4 separate regions of the Homo sapiens genome follow, and regions 2, 3 and 4 are each linked to region 1. Evidence: promoter capture Hi-C in 16 types of primary human blood cells and fetal thymus (Javierre and others, 2016). All regions are on one chromosome and are shown on one strand. Each heading gives the region's core, a stretch centred on a gene start or on the middle of the fragment in contact. The rest is flanking DNA. Distances are from core to core; before and after follow the strand shown.

The links. Contacts are between HindIII fragments. The CHiCAGO score rates a contact against its expected background, and 5 or more counts as called.
Region 2: a contact is called between the fragment with the promoter of ZMYND12 here and a fragment that was not itself captured in region 1, in 1 of 17 cell types (naive CD8 T cells). The highest score is 5.5, in naive CD8 T cells.
Region 3: a contact is called between the fragment with the promoter of PPIH here and a fragment that was not itself captured in region 1, in 1 of 17 cell types (total CD8 T cells). The highest score is 5.1, in total CD8 T cells.
Region 4: the fragment with the promoter of YBX1 here is called in contact with a fragment that was not itself captured in region 1 in 3 of 17 cell types (total B cells, fetal thymus and naive CD8 T cells); the score reaches 7.3 in total B cells.

What each region holds. Positions count from the first base shown.
Region 1 is chr1:43,355,828-43,359,595 of GRCh38, forward strand. CDC20 (cell division cycle 20) reads left to right here and starts at 3,154. Exons shown (of 11, transcript NM_001255.3): 1 at 3,154-3,179; 2 at 3,340-3,569; 3 at 3,663-3,768. The coding sequence starts at 3,389. It overlaps CDC20-DT (CDC20 divergent transcript), which reads right to left and starts at 2,846. Exons shown (of 4, transcript NR_183650.1): 1 at 2,723-2,846; 2 at 2,215-2,281; 3 at 1,976-2,073. RefSeq lists enhancers at 1,923-2,431, 2,543-2,602, 2,942-3,450 and silencers at 2,893-3,002, 3,193-3,342. The HindIII fragment of the contact is 210 bases long and covers 2,414-2,623 here.
Region 2 is chr1:42,453,979-42,457,746 of GRCh38, forward strand. It overlaps ZMYND12 (zinc finger MYND-type containing 12), which reads right to left and starts at 2,044. Exons shown (of 8, transcript NM_032257.5): 1 at 1,910-2,044. The coding sequence starts at 2,019. PPCS (phosphopantothenoylcysteine synthetase) reads left to right here and starts at 2,565. Exons shown (of 3, transcript NM_024664.4): 1 at 2,565-3,095; 2 at 3,269-3,372. The coding sequence starts at 2,588. It also overlaps a transcript of CCDC30 not described here. RefSeq lists enhancers at 2,166-2,395, 2,636-2,705, 2,796-2,915. The HindIII fragment of the contact is 2,356 bases long and covers 1,290-3,645 here.
Region 3 is chr1:42,656,655-42,660,422 of GRCh38, forward strand. It overlaps PPIH (peptidylprolyl isomerase H), which reads left to right and starts at 1,769. Exons shown (of 10, transcript NM_006347.4): 1 at 1,769-1,858; 2 at 2,190-2,254; 3 at 2,574-2,597; 4 at 2,868-2,912. The coding sequence starts at 1,793. It overlaps CCDC30 (coiled-coil domain containing 30), which reads left to right. Exons shown (of 21, transcript NM_001395517.1): 21 at 1-536. The region is part of intron 1 of LOC124904162 (a long non-coding RNA gene); the gene reads right to left. The HindIII fragment of the contact is 5,565 bases long and covers 1-3,620 here.
Region 4 is chr1:42,680,463-42,684,230 of GRCh38, forward strand. YBX1 (Y-box binding protein 1) reads left to right here and starts at 1,956. Exons shown (of 8, transcript NM_004559.5): 1 at 1,956-2,269; 2 at 2,941-3,004. The coding sequence starts at 2,104. It also overlaps a transcript of PPIH not described here. RefSeq lists an enhancer at 1,612-1,661 and silencers at 2,102-2,301, 2,492-2,601, 2,712-2,861. The HindIII fragment of the contact is 3,657 bases long and covers 391-3,768 here.

The sequences.
Region 1 (3,768 bases), core at 1,269-3,768:
CTGACCTAGTGATCCGCCCGCCTCAGCCTCCCAAAGTGCTGGGATTACAGGTGTGAGCCACCGCGCAGGCCTGTTTTCTGTATTTTTTTTAGAGACAAGGTGATACTATGTTGCCCAGACTGGTCCCAAACTCATGAGCTCAAGCAATCCTCTGGCCTTGGCCTTCCAAAGTGCTGGGATTACAAGTGTAAGCCACCACACCCAGCCAGATGTTGAAGTCTTAACTCCCAGTACTTCAAATACGACCTTATTAGGAAATAGGGTCATTGCAGATATAATTAGTTAAGATGAGGTCAGGGCCCTAGTTCAATATGATTGGTATTCTTATAAAAAGAGAAAATTGGACACACATACACACAGAAAGAAAGCCAAGTGAAGATGAAGGCAGAGAACAGGGCGATTCTTCTATAAGCCAAGGAATGACAAAGATTGCCGGCAAACCACCACCAGAAGCCAGGAGAGAGGCATGGAACAGATTCTTCCTCACGGTTCTCACACAACTCTCATGACACCTTGATCTGGAACTTCTAACCTCCAGAATTGTGAGACAACCAATTTCTGTCATTTAAGCCAGTTTGTGGTACTTTGTTACAGTAACTCTAGCAAACGAATATAGAGGATATCAGGGGATGGGCTACACAAGTCACCTATACTTGCCGGCTTCCCGTTCTCCCTATTTCATTCTTTCCGCAACTCCTCCAAAATGGATCTCAAGCACCCACTTTCCTGATCCTGCTCTCTCCAAAGTCATCGGTAATTTGATTTTCAATGGCCAAATCTGACCCTTTCTGTCATCATTCCACTTGACTACATATATTAGGGTATCTCCCACTTCAAGATCCATGTCTGGATAATTTCCATTGCCTTCCTTCATTCATTTATTATTATTATTATTTTGAGACAAAGTCTCCCTCTGTCACCCAGGCTAGAGTGCAGTGGCGCGACCTCGCTCACTACAACCTGCGCCTCCCAGGTTCAAGCGATTCCCCTGCCTCAGCCTCCCAGGTAGCTGGGATTACAGGTGTGCACCACCACACCTGGCTAATTTTGTACTTCTAGTAGAGACAGGGTTTCGCCACATTGGCCCGACTAGTCTTGAACTACTGACTTCAAGTGATCTGCCCGCCTTGGCCTCCCAAAGTGCTGGGATTACAGGAGTGAACCATGACAACCTGCCCAAATCCTTTATTTTTAAATGTACAAATTCCCTGAGGCTATACCCTTTATCCTTCTCTATAGCTACCACCAGAAGTTGCAAATTATTGCCATATCCCCCCCCTCAGATGTTTTATTTGGTCCTTCCCTACACAGAAACCCCACAGGTACCACAATGCCTAGCAGATGAAGTCCAAAGTCTTTAGCTTAACATTTAAGACCCTGACCAACTTGACATGAGACAACCTTTTCTATGTTTTCTGGGAATTCCCCACCTCTAACCTAAGCATATCCAATTCCTTATTTTCCAAGGTAATTGGAAATAGAGAATGCAAAGGCTTCAAGTCAAAGATAATAACATTATCTGTAAGCATCGGAGTGGACTTTAAGCTAATGACTGAAAATGATTTTTCCAGCCTCTTTCTGGGACAGTATAGCGTATTGTTTAGATTGCAGGGATTAGTCAGATAGTTTGAATCCTGGGCTCCCCTACTTATTATTGGCTGCATGCCTTTGGGCAAGTTTCTAATCTTTCTGACCCAGTTTCTTTTTTCTGTAAAGGGAAGATGGGGTATCTATCTGCCTTATGGGATTAAGGATTGAACTCGATAATGTATGTAAACTTTTTTTTTTTTTTTCAGACAGAGTATCGCTCTGTTGCCCAGGCTGGAGTGCAGTGGCTCGATCTCGGCTCACTGCAAGCTCCGCCTCCCGGGTTCACGCCATTCTCCTGCCTCAGCCTCTCGAGTAGCTGGAACTACAGGCGCCCGCCACCAAGCCCGGCTAATTTTTTGTATTTTTAGTAAAGACGGGGTTTCACCGTGTTAGCCAGGATGGTCTCGATCTTCTGACTTCGTGATCTGCCCGCCTCGGCCTCCCAAAGTGCTGGGATTACAAGCGTGAGCCACCGCGCATGGCCTGTAAATTGTTTTAACACAGTAGTTAGATGGTCCATAAATGGTACCATTATTACTTTTATGATTGCTGCTCCACCTCTGAGCACATTCATACAATTCACTCAAGTCATTATTAGAGCACTAGATTGAGTGCGAGTCAGACCTGGATTCCCACAAACTTCTTTGTATGACCTCGGGCACATCCCTTCCCTGGGCCTCCGTTTCTCCATCTGTAAAATATGGATTTGTTGTCGGGGTGGGGAGGCTGCACCACGCACAGGTTAGACTAATGGATCTCTAAGGTCCTCACATCTTTAAAGCCCCAAGGGGATAAGCCACAGTGCCTCCTGTAGGGCAGTCTAAGCTTATCTTCCAGATAGGCAGGTTTGAATACCGATCCTTTTTCTTGACCTTAAGGAATTCATTCACCCTTTTCAACCTCATTTTCCCTGTTTGTAAAACAACAGCAAACGAGACAAACACACGTTACTTCCTTTCTAGCAGGGTTCCTACCCGGCGCCAAGCAAAAGTGGAATGTACCCTAAGTAGCTCTGGCCTTCTTCCTGCTCCCAAGCTTCCCAATTCCGTCCCCTGCCCCGCTGCCGCCCGCGGCTCTCCTTCCCCTTCTAGGAACGGCTCAAGCGCCTTGGGCACTCCATCGGGTTCTGCACCGAGTTCTGCATCATAAATACGACTCTCGTGTAGGATTTAAGTGTGAACTTCTGCAGGTTCTCGGACCCTGAAGCACCCGGGGCCAGACATTCCGAGCTCGCGGCGGTGGAAGGCACGCAAAAGGGCGAACCGAGACGACTCCAGGACGCTGAGGCAGCGCAGGCCCCACCCGGCCCCGCCCTGCCCCGCCCTGTCCCGGCCGGCTTTCCAGTACTAGTCCTCTGGCGCCGGCTCCCAGCCCCTCTCGTACCCTTCAAATCGCGCTCCGCCGCTAGACTCTCGTGATAGCTGAGACTTTCCCCGGAAGGCCCGCCCCCTTCGCCGGAGAGGCCAATGGGCTAGGGCAACGGTTGCGACGGTTGGATTTTGAAGGAGCCAATAGGCGCTCGGAGCGGAGAGTTTAAGAGGCGTAAGCCAGGCGTGTTAAAGCCGGTCGGAACTGCTCCGGAGGGCACGGTGAGAGGTGGTGGGGCTGAGCCGAGGTGGGGCCGTGGCCAGGGGGAGGGGGTGCTAGGCCGGAAGGGGCTGCAGCCGAGGGTGGCCCTGATTTTGTGGCCGGCCAGGAGCGAAGGGGTCCCTTTCTGTCCCCTGAGCACCGTCGCCTCCTTTCCTCCAGGGCTCCGTAGGCACCAACTGCAAGGACCCCTCCCCCTGCGGGCGCTCCCATGGCACAGTTCGCGTTCGAGAGTGACCTGCACTCGCTGCTTCAGCTGGATGCACCCATCCCCAATGCACCCCCTGCGCGCTGGCAGCGCAAAGCCAAGGAAGCCGCAGGCCCGGCCCCCTCACCCATGCGGGCCGCCAACCGATCCCACAGCGCCGGCAGGACTCCGGGCCGAACTCCTGGTCAGTGAGGTGCCAAAGGAACTGAGTGAGAGCAGCCTTCATACTTTCTCCCTGGGGAGCCTGGTCAGACTGTCTTCTCTTTCTCCGCCCCAGGCAAATCCAGTTCCAAGGTTCAGACCACTCCTAGCAAACCTGGCGGTGACCGCTATATCCCCCATCGCAGTGCTGCCCAGATGGAGGTGGCCAGCTTCCTCCTGAG
Region 2 (3,768 bases), core at 794-3,293, 900 kb before region 1:
GGTACTGTGAGAGAGAAAAGTATGACGGGGAGTTGAGACTGGGTTTAGACCTCTTTGAAGAAATGACATTTAAACTGAGAACTGAAGGATGAAAGGGAGCCAGGAAGGCTTGTAGTTGAAGGGGAGGTTCCTAGCAGAGAGAACAGACTGGGAAAAGAAACTGAGGGAAGAAAGGGCTTAGCAAATTAGAACTTCAGTTCTCTATAACTACAGCAAAGAAAAAATGGGGTGAGTGTGGTGGGAAGTGAAGGTAGAGAAATAACCAGGGCCTTGTATTTTCTGTTACAAATTCTTAATTATATTCTAAAGGCAAGGAAGCCACCAAAGAGGAGATAGCAATGAAAACACAGATACCATCCCTGCCCTTGTGGGGCATACAGCCTAATGAAAGAAATAAATAAATGATTTCAGTCCATGTCCTAAGTGTTAGGATAGGGGACATACTCAGTGCTTTGAGAGCACTGAGGAAGGACACCTAGGCCAGTATGAGAAGGTACTGCAACAGCTTCTTGATCTGTTATGCAGCCGTCAGTGTCTACCTTCCTCTGTATCTGCCACACTGCAGCCCATCCTCTTTCCTTAACACAAATGAGAGCATGTCAGCTCAAAACCATTCATGGTTTCCCAGGAGATAAATTCCAAACCCTTGATCTCATGTCACTGTCTAGCCCTAACCTTTATCTTCTTGGTTTAAACTTCTACTACCTATCACAATGATGTTCCAACTTTTTTTTTTTTTTTTGAGACACAGTTTCACTCTTGTTGCCCAAGCTGGAGTGCAATGGAGCGATCTCGGCTCACTGCAACCTCCGCCTCCCGGGTTCAAACGATTCTCCTGCTTCAGCCTCCCGAGTAGCTAGGATTACAGGTGCACGCCACCACATCCGGCTAATTTTGACTCAACCTATAGTAAGAAATACATTTTTCCTGTACACACACACATGTCCACATAAAACACTAAGACAAAAGTTTTAAGAAACAATTCAGGTAGGATTAACCTGATACTTTCTACTCATTCTGTGCTCTTTTTTGTTGTTGTTGTTTTCTCTAAATGGTGATTGTGACTTATTCATAAACTGCTAAAGGGCCCTGGCCTGCAGTTTGAAAATCACTGACTGCTCCCTCCACTACTACGTTCTCCACTCGGCCCTTAGCAAACTCTGTTCTTTTGCCATTTGCCCTAGCAGTCCCGGATGCCGGGAATGCCCTACCCTTCTTCACTACTCCTGTACACAGCAGGTTCTGACTGCCCTCTCAAAATGCAGCTCAAATGTTTCTTCCACAGGGAAAGCTTTCCACATACTGCCCCATTCACTATCGTCTCACTCTCGTTGCCCAAGCTGGAGTGCAGTGGCGCGATCTCCGCTCACTGCGAGCTCCGCCTCCCGGGTTCAAGCGATTCTTCTGCTTCAGCCTCCCGAGTAGCTGGGATTACAGGCGCCCAGCACCACTCCCGCCTAATTTTTGTATTTTTTAGTAGAGACAGGGTTTCACCATGTTGGCCAGGCTGGTCTCGAACTCCTGACCTCAGGCGATCCGCCCGCCTCGGCCTCCCGAAGTGCTGGGATTACAGGCGTGAGCCACCGCGCCCGGCCTGTTTCTTTACTGATTTGTCTCCCACATTGGAATGTTAGATCTTTGAAGGAACTGATCTACCGAGCTGCCCCAGTAACTTTAGCACCTAAAATAGTGCATAACACAGAGTACGCCTTCAGAAAACATGAGTGACGAATAAGTGGGAGATGAGACAGACGAGGCCACGGGAGTCTTAGGGGCCTGTCTTAAAGCCGTTTTGAGGTGTCCCTTGCAGAGTCAGGGGCAACGGCTAACGCAAGGTACCCAAGCCAGACCCGGGAAAGGGAGAGAGGGAGGGAGTTATAGCGCCCAGGTGCCACGTTTCAGGGCCTACCAGTAATAAGTGACTGTGCAGGCCGCGCACACCCGCTCGGCTGGGGCTTCGCACACCTCACAGCAGAGTCTGCGCCCCTTGGGGACTGCCAGTGGGTAGATCACATTCATGGTGCAGCCAGCAGTGCTGGTCTCTAAGACGGTTGCCCAGCAAGGATACGCTGAACCCCGGCGTCACGTGACGATCGCGGGGCTGCGTACTTGCCAGCATTTCAAGGGCAGAGGGCGGCGGGACGTGACTCGACTAACATCTGGGTGTATTGCTGAAGTTGGAAAAGGGGAAGAAAGAAAGAAAAAGCAGCACAAAACCCACAAGTCCCACGGGTCAAATGGCCGAGAAACGACTCCCAAGGAGTCCAAGTCCAGAAAGGCCCGTACAGTGGCCGGTAAGGGTCAAACATGGCCAGTTCTTCACCCAGGCTAGGAAACGAACGTGAGGGAACGTGACCCTACCAGATGCCCACCCAGCCGGGGATCCCCCTCGTTGCAGTGTCACTTTCGCTGGGCTCTGGGGCAGAACAACTACGCATTTCCAGACTTGGCGAGATCGGGACCTAGTGTCAAAAGAAGGGTAGTGAACCGCCCACTCAGTACGGCGCGGCGCGTACACCAGGTAGGCGAGAAGGGGCGTGGCGCGGCGGCCGCGAAACGTGCGCAGGCGCCGGCCGCTGCGCTGCAGATGGCGGAAATGGATCCGGTAGCCGAGTTCCCCCAGCCTCCCGGTGCTGCGCGCTGGGCTGAGGTTATGGCTCGCTTCGCGGCCAGGCTGGGCGCGCAGGGCCGGCGGGTGGTGTTGGTTACGTCAGGCGGCACCAAGGTCCCACTGGAAGCGCGGCCGGTGCGCTTCCTGGACAACTTCAGCAGCGGGCGGCGCGGTGCAACCTCGGCCGAGGCCTTCCTAGCCGCCGGCTACGGGGTCCTGTTCTTGTATCGCGCTCGCTCTGCCTTCCCCTATGCCCACCGCTTCCCACCCCAGACTTGGCTGTCCGCTCTGCGGCCTTCGGGCCCAGCCCTTTCGGGCTTGCTGAGCCTGGAGGCCGAGGAGAATGCACTTCCGGGTTTTGCTGAGGCTCTGAGGAGCTACCAGGAGGCTGCGGCTGCAGGCACCTTCCTGGCAGTAGAGTTCACCACTTTGGCGGACTATTTGCATCTGTTGCAGGCTGCGGCCCAGGCACTCAATCCGCTAGGTGCGTGCCCTAGGAGTACCCCTTTTGCCTGGAAGCACAGCCTTTCTTTCCAGCCACTTATCCCCTTACCTCCTGCTTACCCACGGATCTCAGCTGGGGAACCCGAGTTGAGAAGGAGCTGATCCTATATCGTACCTCGCCGATTTGTTAACACCTTGTGTTTCTCTTTGCAGGCCCTTCTGCGATGTTTTACCTGGCTGCGGCTGTGTCAGATTTCTATGTTCCTGTCTCTGAAATGCCTGAACACAAGATCCAGTCATCTGGGGGCCCACTGCAGGTGATGGGCGCTTCTCTTCCAGAGATCTAATCCCATATAACCAATCTTGGGTTAATTTCCTCTTGATCTGGAGATGGCCTTTCTGCATCTGTATTCGCTAGGCACAGGGGATACAGAGATGAATAAGACACCGCCCTCCCTCATGGACCTCACAATCTAGTGAGGGAGCTGGACACAGACATAATTACAATACAGAGTGATAAATGCTCTAGTGGAGGTATGTACAAAGTGCAGTCAGATCATGGGGCGAGTGAATCCTGGGGGAGTCGATGAAGCTTCTTGGAGGAGATGAATTGAACTGGGTTTTAAAAGATGAGCAGAACCGAGCGCGGTGGCTCACGCCTGTAATCCCAGCACTTTGGGAGGCCAAGGAGGGCAGATCGCCTGAGGTCAGGA
Region 3 (3,768 bases), core at 519-3,018, 700 kb before region 1:
AATAATAAAATAAATAAAAAGTGTGTCAACATACTGTTTTCATAGTCAAGTTACTCAACCTCCTTGAGCCTCAATTTCTTGATTCCTAAAATGGGAACAATAATAGTTCTCTATCCCATAGGGTTGTGAGGACCAAATGAAATGAAGCATGTAAAGTATTTAGCACGTAGTAACTGCTTAATAAATGCTATCATCATTTATTTTCACTAGAGGTTTATCAATGTACTATTTTTTTCACAACCTCATCAACATTGGATATTATCAATTTTAAAGATTTATTCTAAAACAGTTGGTATAAAATTATACTGAAGCGTGACTGCTGCTGTTCCTTTTCCCCCTCCTCCCCTTTCTTCTTTTTCAGTTGGAGGAGACCAAGAGGAGAGGATCAGTAACCAGAAATAAAAATGACCCTTTACATTGAGACACACTGTATTTTTATATGTAATCCTTGCTTTCTCAGACAACAGAGCTAGAAAGATGATCATAGGAACTAGGAAATAATAACTATTTTATTAAATGCATGCTGTTATATTGAATGAGCCTTGCCCAAGGTCCCCTTCTTTCACTAAATTCATTGCATCTATTATTTATTGAATACCTACTATATGCTATTCAGTAGGCGACATTGCAGCTACAGCTGCGAATAGGACCAGGAGAGTCTCTACTTTCATGGAGTTTATATGCTATCAGGGAGGAAGATTATGTGTGTGTGGCAGGAAATGAGGTGTAGACACATACCATACGAAGATAATGTGGAAGTGGGGGTGGCATGAAGAAAACAAACCAGTGATCTGAATGACCAAGGGCTACTTTAGATTAGGTCTAATGTTGCCTCTCAGGAGGTAACATCTGGGGTGAGCCCTGAACTACAAGGAGCATTACTTCCCACACGCATACCCCAACCAACCCCCACAATCCCCCGCCAACCCACATTAAGTTCTGGAAGGAATATTTCAGACAGAAGTAACAGCTATTACAAAGCCCTAAAGAGAGGAGGGATCTCAGTGACCTGGAGGAACAGACAGGTCAGAGCACAGTAACTAAGGGCAAGTGGTACAAGATGAGGTCAGGTACGTGATAGCCAGATAAATGCACTGTAGGGCTTCGTATGCACGGAATTGGATTTTATTCTAAATATGGGAAGCCAGGAGTTATTTTTAAAATAAATAGGAAGCACAAGAGTTATTTTAAAAATAAAAAATAAAAAACTCTAGTTGCTTTATGGGAAATGAATTGGAAATGACAAAACTGGTAGCTTTTGTGGCAGAACAAACATTATCTATTGTCCTGACTTAGAGGAAGGGATATTTACTTAGCAAGCCTGTACGTGCCAAGCTGTTCTAAACGCTGAGGATGAACAAACCAGAGTTCCTGCCTTCACGGTGTTCACACTAGCGGGCAGAAGACAGACAGCACGTGTGGCGGTGCAGAGGGCTTGGCTGCAAGAGCCGATAAGGAGGACCCTGGCGACTGCCTAGTCCAAAAGTCCTAGCTAGAGCAAGATCAACTTGTACTGCCCTTAGTACAGCCACGTGAGTGGGGTGACCATTGACCTTAACCAAAAAGATGTCAAGGCTTTCCTCCTCCTCACTCCCGCGTCCCCAGTGCCAGGCAGAGTCTCTCAGCTAGACCCTAGCAGTCTCAGCACACACCGCACGGGGCGACAGCTTCCGGGGGCGGAGCCTGGTCTCGCTCCACGTCTACCGCGCCTGCTCCCCGGACGAAATCCGCGGACCGGGCTTTAGGTTCGCCGGAATCCCACGCTCCCGACTTCTGCTTCCGGGTCGGAGCCATGGCGGTGGCAAATTCAAGTCCTGTTAACCCCGTGGTGTTCTTTGATGTCAGTATTGGCGGTCAGGTGAGATCCAGGAGGCTGCCCACACCTGCGCCGAAGGGAAACTGCTCGGGGCTAGGCAGGCAGAACTCACCCAGAGAGAGCGGACTCGGGAAGCCAGCCAGAAAGTGAAATTGCACCCGAACCTACCGACCTGCCGGGCGGGGGGAAAGGAGGAGGAGGAGTCTCCCCAATCCTAGCGCCCCGCTTCTGGAGGAACTGGGCGGTTAGACTAGGGAGGCGGAGGTGGGAGATACCGAGCGGCAGGGTGGTGGGTCAGCCCATCATGCCCCCTGCTCCGTGAAGCCCTCATGGTCTTGGACTGGGCCTTCTGACACTCTCCCGCTGATTGCAGGAAGTTGGCCGCATGAAGATCGAGCTCTTTGCAGACGTTGTGCCTAAGACGGCCGAGAACTTTAGGTAAGGACGTGCTCCAGCTCCGCTGGATTAGCTGAGGCAGAAGTCGGGCTCCAGTCAGCCGCCTGAAATAGCCTGTCTACCTCTGTCCGTCCGCTCACTGCTCTTGAGACCTGATTCCTCCATGCATTGCTCTGTCTGGTTGCCGTTTGGATTGTTCCCGTGTTAATTTACGTTGTTAGTCTGTGTGACTGCGTGTCTGGACGTCTGGCTGGCCGATTGGTGGACTTGCTGGCTCCAGTGTTTATTCTTTCCCGTATTTAGAGGCGCTCACGACTGTGACATCATAGTGATTGAATCATTCATTTTTTGTCCCTTTCAGGCAGTTCTGCACCGGAGAATTCAGGTCAGTTTCAGATGTGTTTGACTTCTTTGCCTGCTCCAGAGGGGTGTTCTGGGGCTGCAGTGAGGGTATCGGTGAACCACCTGCTGGCCTTGAATGATTGCTGGTGACAGTGATAGAAGGTAATGCCCCAAGGGTCTGTCCCTAGTTTATTTGCCTTCTTTATGTCTGTCAACCATCTTTAGGAGAGTCCTTTTGGCTCCAGTGCATGGTAAACTGGAAAGGCCTTGTGCTACCTGCTGTCACTCCAAGTCTCTTTCTTTTCGGTTATAGGAAAGATGGGGTTCCAATAGGATACAAAGGAAGCACCTTCCACAGGTAAGGCTCTTGGCAAGCCATCCTGGAGTCTTTCAGAAATATTTCCTGGGGGATTAGGCTCTTTAGAGGAAAATAAAACCAGAGGGTAATTCTTACATTTCTTGAGAAGAAATGTTTTTGTGGACTCAACAACTGAAGATTTATTAAATGTTCTAACTCTACTTACACTCCCCCACTTCTTAGGTCTTTAAAACAGAAACTACTCATCTTTACAATATCTTGTCTTTTTCATGCACTTGTTTGTGCGAATGCAGATTTTTTAAAAAGTACACTTGTAATCCTAAAGTGCATATAATATATCCTGCTGGTTGATATTTATAACTAATTCCTAAAATGATCATATATGATTGTCCAAGGATAATCATATTTCCTGGGGAGTGGAGTATGTCAACACTTAGTCTCATTTCAATATAGAATCTTTCTCATGGCCTCACTGTGGTTAGTAACAATGTTAGCACATAATTATATCACAGCTTTAGAGCTTTGGGTCTCTAATCCCCAGTAAGACTCCTGTGAAGTGGTATGGGTGATCTGCATTCTACAGAGGAGGAAACTGAGGATAAGAAAGGTTAAGGACCCTCCCTAGGGGTAATAGCTAACAGTTGTTAAGCCCTTACATGTTTAGCAGTACATTTCACATAAATTCTCTGTAGTTCTTTCCCCCAAATTTACATCAAACCCTTGCTCTGCCTTTTGCTTTGGCAAGTAAGCTTTCAGCCCCTTCTTCTTATTACTGTTCAGGTACCAGATCATGCACTTGATCAACTCTAACATGCCCTAATTTATAACGAAAATCCTTTTTTATGGTTAATTATCCTTTCAGCTTAATCATTCAGGAAAAGAATAATCTTCAGGT
Region 4 (3,768 bases), core at 706-3,205, 680 kb before region 1:
ACTCTAAGACTTCTCTTAGAAGTCATAGAGTCCAGTAAACCACATTATGGAATCTGGACTACCCTAAGGGTAATAGTAGTCACTGGAAGATTTTAAGTAAGACAGTGTCATGATCAGATAGATGTTCTCAAAAGAACTTTCTGGCTGTTGTGGTGGGTAATATTAGAGTAAGAAAGAGGTAGAGAGGTGTGGTTAGTAGCCAACAGCACTGCTCTATGCTAGGGGTCAGCCGACTACACTCCGTTTTTCTGTGGCTCATGAGCTAAGAATACAAATGGTTTTTAAAATGTTTAAATAGTTGAAAATATGTAAAGATTCGTGTCATGTAAAAATTAAGGCTGTTTTCAAGCTCCAAACCTGAGTAGTAAGTCAGAACCATATGGTCGGCCAAGCTTATATTATTAACTATTTGGCTCTCACAGAAAAAGGTTCCTACCCCTTGCTCTAAGCAATTGGTGATGATGGCCTACAGTAGTGACAGTAGGAATGAAAAGACTCTGAATTGACATTTAGAGGGTTTAGGACTGACTCAAGAACGCCTTTAGGAGGTGGAACTCACAGGCCTAGACGGCATTGGTAGGGGTAAGGAATACTGCATTAGCCTCCTAACTGCTTTCTCTACTTCCATTCCTTGCCCCTCTGCAACCCATTCTCCACTCCGCAGCCATTTTTAAAAAGATGCCCCTCCCTACTTATGACTCTAAAATTGCTCTTCTCACTCTTCCCCTCAGGATATATTTCCAATTAAATATACCTAAGTGACTGCCCACCTCTGCAACCCAATGTCACATTCGAGTCTTACTGAACTACTTGACTGCATTTCCCGAGATCTCACCTCTTCTCGCCTGTACCCTGTGCGCGGAAAGTCAGCCCTCCACCTTCTCCCTGCTTCCACTCCCAAAATACTTCGTGGTTTTGCAGCTCTGGAGTATTTACCGTGTTGGCTGTTTAAATTTCTGCCTCCATCAGAAGGCAGAAACTGACTCGCGAACTATTCCATCCCCAGCCGATAGTAGACGCTTAAAAAAGAACGAAAGAAGGTGGGTGGAGGACTTCAGTAACATCAGGTGGCAGCCTCAATTTTATCGTTTGTGAAACGTGGATAGTAATCCCTCTATCACGTGGCTGTTGCAGGAATAAAGTGAAAAAACAAAACAGGCTAGCTTGTTCAATAAATGTGAGTTGAATTAAATCTGATTTGTGGTCAGTAGAAAAAGATGTGAATACTTGGAAAGGAAGACACATTTTTTTAAATATATGCCTGGTAAAACGGATCAGAAGGCAGGTCCCCATGGAGCACACCCTCGCCCTAAACATGCTGAACCCGGGCTGCCATAGCCTGCGTGGTCCCTCCAAGGTGACTGCTCCGACAAAAGGGTACGCTCTTCAAACGCATACGTTTAAGGCAATTCCAGAAACCCTCGGCTGTGCCGCGACTACACGGCCATTAAAGAAAAGACGACTCTATGCCCGCCGTAATGTTCTCAGATCACAGGGACCGTATTTGGAGCTGGGAGGGAGGGAAGCCTTTTCTTCACGGGGGGCTAAGGCGTCTTCGAGCCCCCTTCCAATCCCGGGTCCGGCCGGGTAATCCCTGCCCAGCGTTCGGGCGTGCCTTTTTTTCAGCCGAGACACAACCCTGAACGTGGGGCCCGCCAGCCCGGCGGCTGCCTCGTGGAAGTCACGTTCCTTCTGCCCGTCCTCTCGGGTACTCTATGGTTTTCGTGGCCGACTACTCTAATTCTAGTTCCGGTCTCTATGGCGGCCGGCGGAGGCAGGAACGGTTGTAGGTCGACTGAATTAGCCGCCAAAGGTCCAATGAGAATGGAGGACTGATAAAATATTAGCCAATAGAAGCTAGGGATTGGGGTCAGGTGGGCAGATTGACAGTACCACTGGCCAGTGAACAACGCCTAGGGCGGGTCGCTCGTAGGGCTTATCCCGCCTGTCCCGCCATTCTCGCTAGTTCGATCGGTAGCGGGAGCGGAGAGCGGACCCCAGAGAGCCCTGAGCAGCCCCACCGCCGCCGCCGGCCTAGTTACCATCACACCCCGGGAGGAGCCGCAGCTGCCGCAGCCGGCCCCAGTCACCATCACCGCAACCATGAGCAGCGAGGCCGAGACCCAGCAGCCGCCCGCCGCCCCCCCCGCCGCCCCCGCCCTCAGCGCCGCCGACACCAAGCCCGGCACTACGGGCAGCGGCGCAGGGAGCGGTGGCCCGGGCGGCCTCACATCGGCGGCGCCTGCCGGCGGGGACAAGAAGGTCATCGGTGAGGACCGGACAGGGACGGGGGTGGGGCCCTCGGGCAGCCCAGCAGCGGAACCGTTAGCCGGAGCTGGGCGAGCCGGCGGGCGCGCGGCCGGTGGGCACCGACTCCGCGGCGCGCGGCCGCCCATCCCCCCCGTCCCCCCCTCACTCCCTCTCGCGGGGACCCGCCCGGCAGGCGCGCGCGCACTGCCTCCCGCGCCCCCTGTGGACCCCGCGCGGCCGCGCGCCCCTCCCCCTGCGGCCGCGCGCCGCCGACCGCGTGTGCGACGGGGTCCCCTCCCCGCCGACCGGCCTCGTGCGCTCGGGCCCGCACGCCGTTGTTCGCGTCACCCCCACCCAGCTCCCTTCCGCGTGTGCTCGGAGGGCGCGGCGCACCGCCTACGCAGGCCGGAGCGGCTTCCCCTTCCCTCACGTGCTCTCCGTCCGCGGCCTGCGCACACACCCATCCTGGGGCCCGCGCCCCGGGCCTGCCCTGGAGCGCCCCGCGCTTCAGACTCACCCACGTGTGCGGCGGCGGCGGCGACTGCGTGGCCCCGCACCCGGGCGGTGGAGAGAAAGGGCTGTCAGGTGGCCGCGGCGGCCGGCGTGCGAGGGACCGGATGCCCAAGCCGGGCGGATTTGGAAAAGGATAGCTGGTAATCGTGGCTTGTTTTGCTTTGTTTTCTTTTCCAGCAACGAAGGTTTTGGGAACAGTAAAATGGTTCAATGTAAGGAACGGATATGGTTTCATCAACAGGTGAGCTGCCGGGCTCTGAAGCCTCCATCCCACCTTCTTGCTTGCTTCCTGCTCTGTCGGCTTCTCGGGGCTTGGGAAGCCCCAATCCACAGCTCTGTTCTGAAAGGCGTTTACTACCTCTGGTGTATTAGTATGATTTTTTGTTGTTGTTGTTTTCCTTGATTAGGGATTAGTGGATCTAGAGAATGCCTTTGTTTTGCAGCTAAATATTAATTTGAAGCTAACTTAAAAGGCTTCGTCACAGTACAAAGCAATTCAAAAGGCAAGCGGAGTGAATGAGCCATTCCTTAACAGGGTAAACGGGAAACTACGGTCCAGTACATTTTTATCCTTGTCATCTTTTTCTACTTTATTGAACTCGGTATTTGAGAATGTGATCCACTGACATCGGATATTTATACATTGTTAACGTTTTAGGGTAAGAGGATTTGACTATATGAGGTTTTGTCATCTTTACCGAGAGGTTGTATTGCCTTTGTTTCACGTTTCATTTTAATACCTGAGATAAATTTTGTCTTAGCACAGCTTTGACCAGAGAGAACTGTTTTTATTTGCTCATCCAGTAAATAATATATTTACAAGAAAGTGGTTTTTTTTCCTTCTTCCGTTCTTATTTTTCATTCTTCCTTGTCCTAGAATCATAACTGGTTAAGTCGATTTCTGTTAGATCCCTGGCTGTAGCTTATTAGAGTGGCCATAGTCACTGGTAACTTGACATTTTTCTTCCTGTTTGAAGGCAAAGCTGCAGACACGTCTTTAGGACT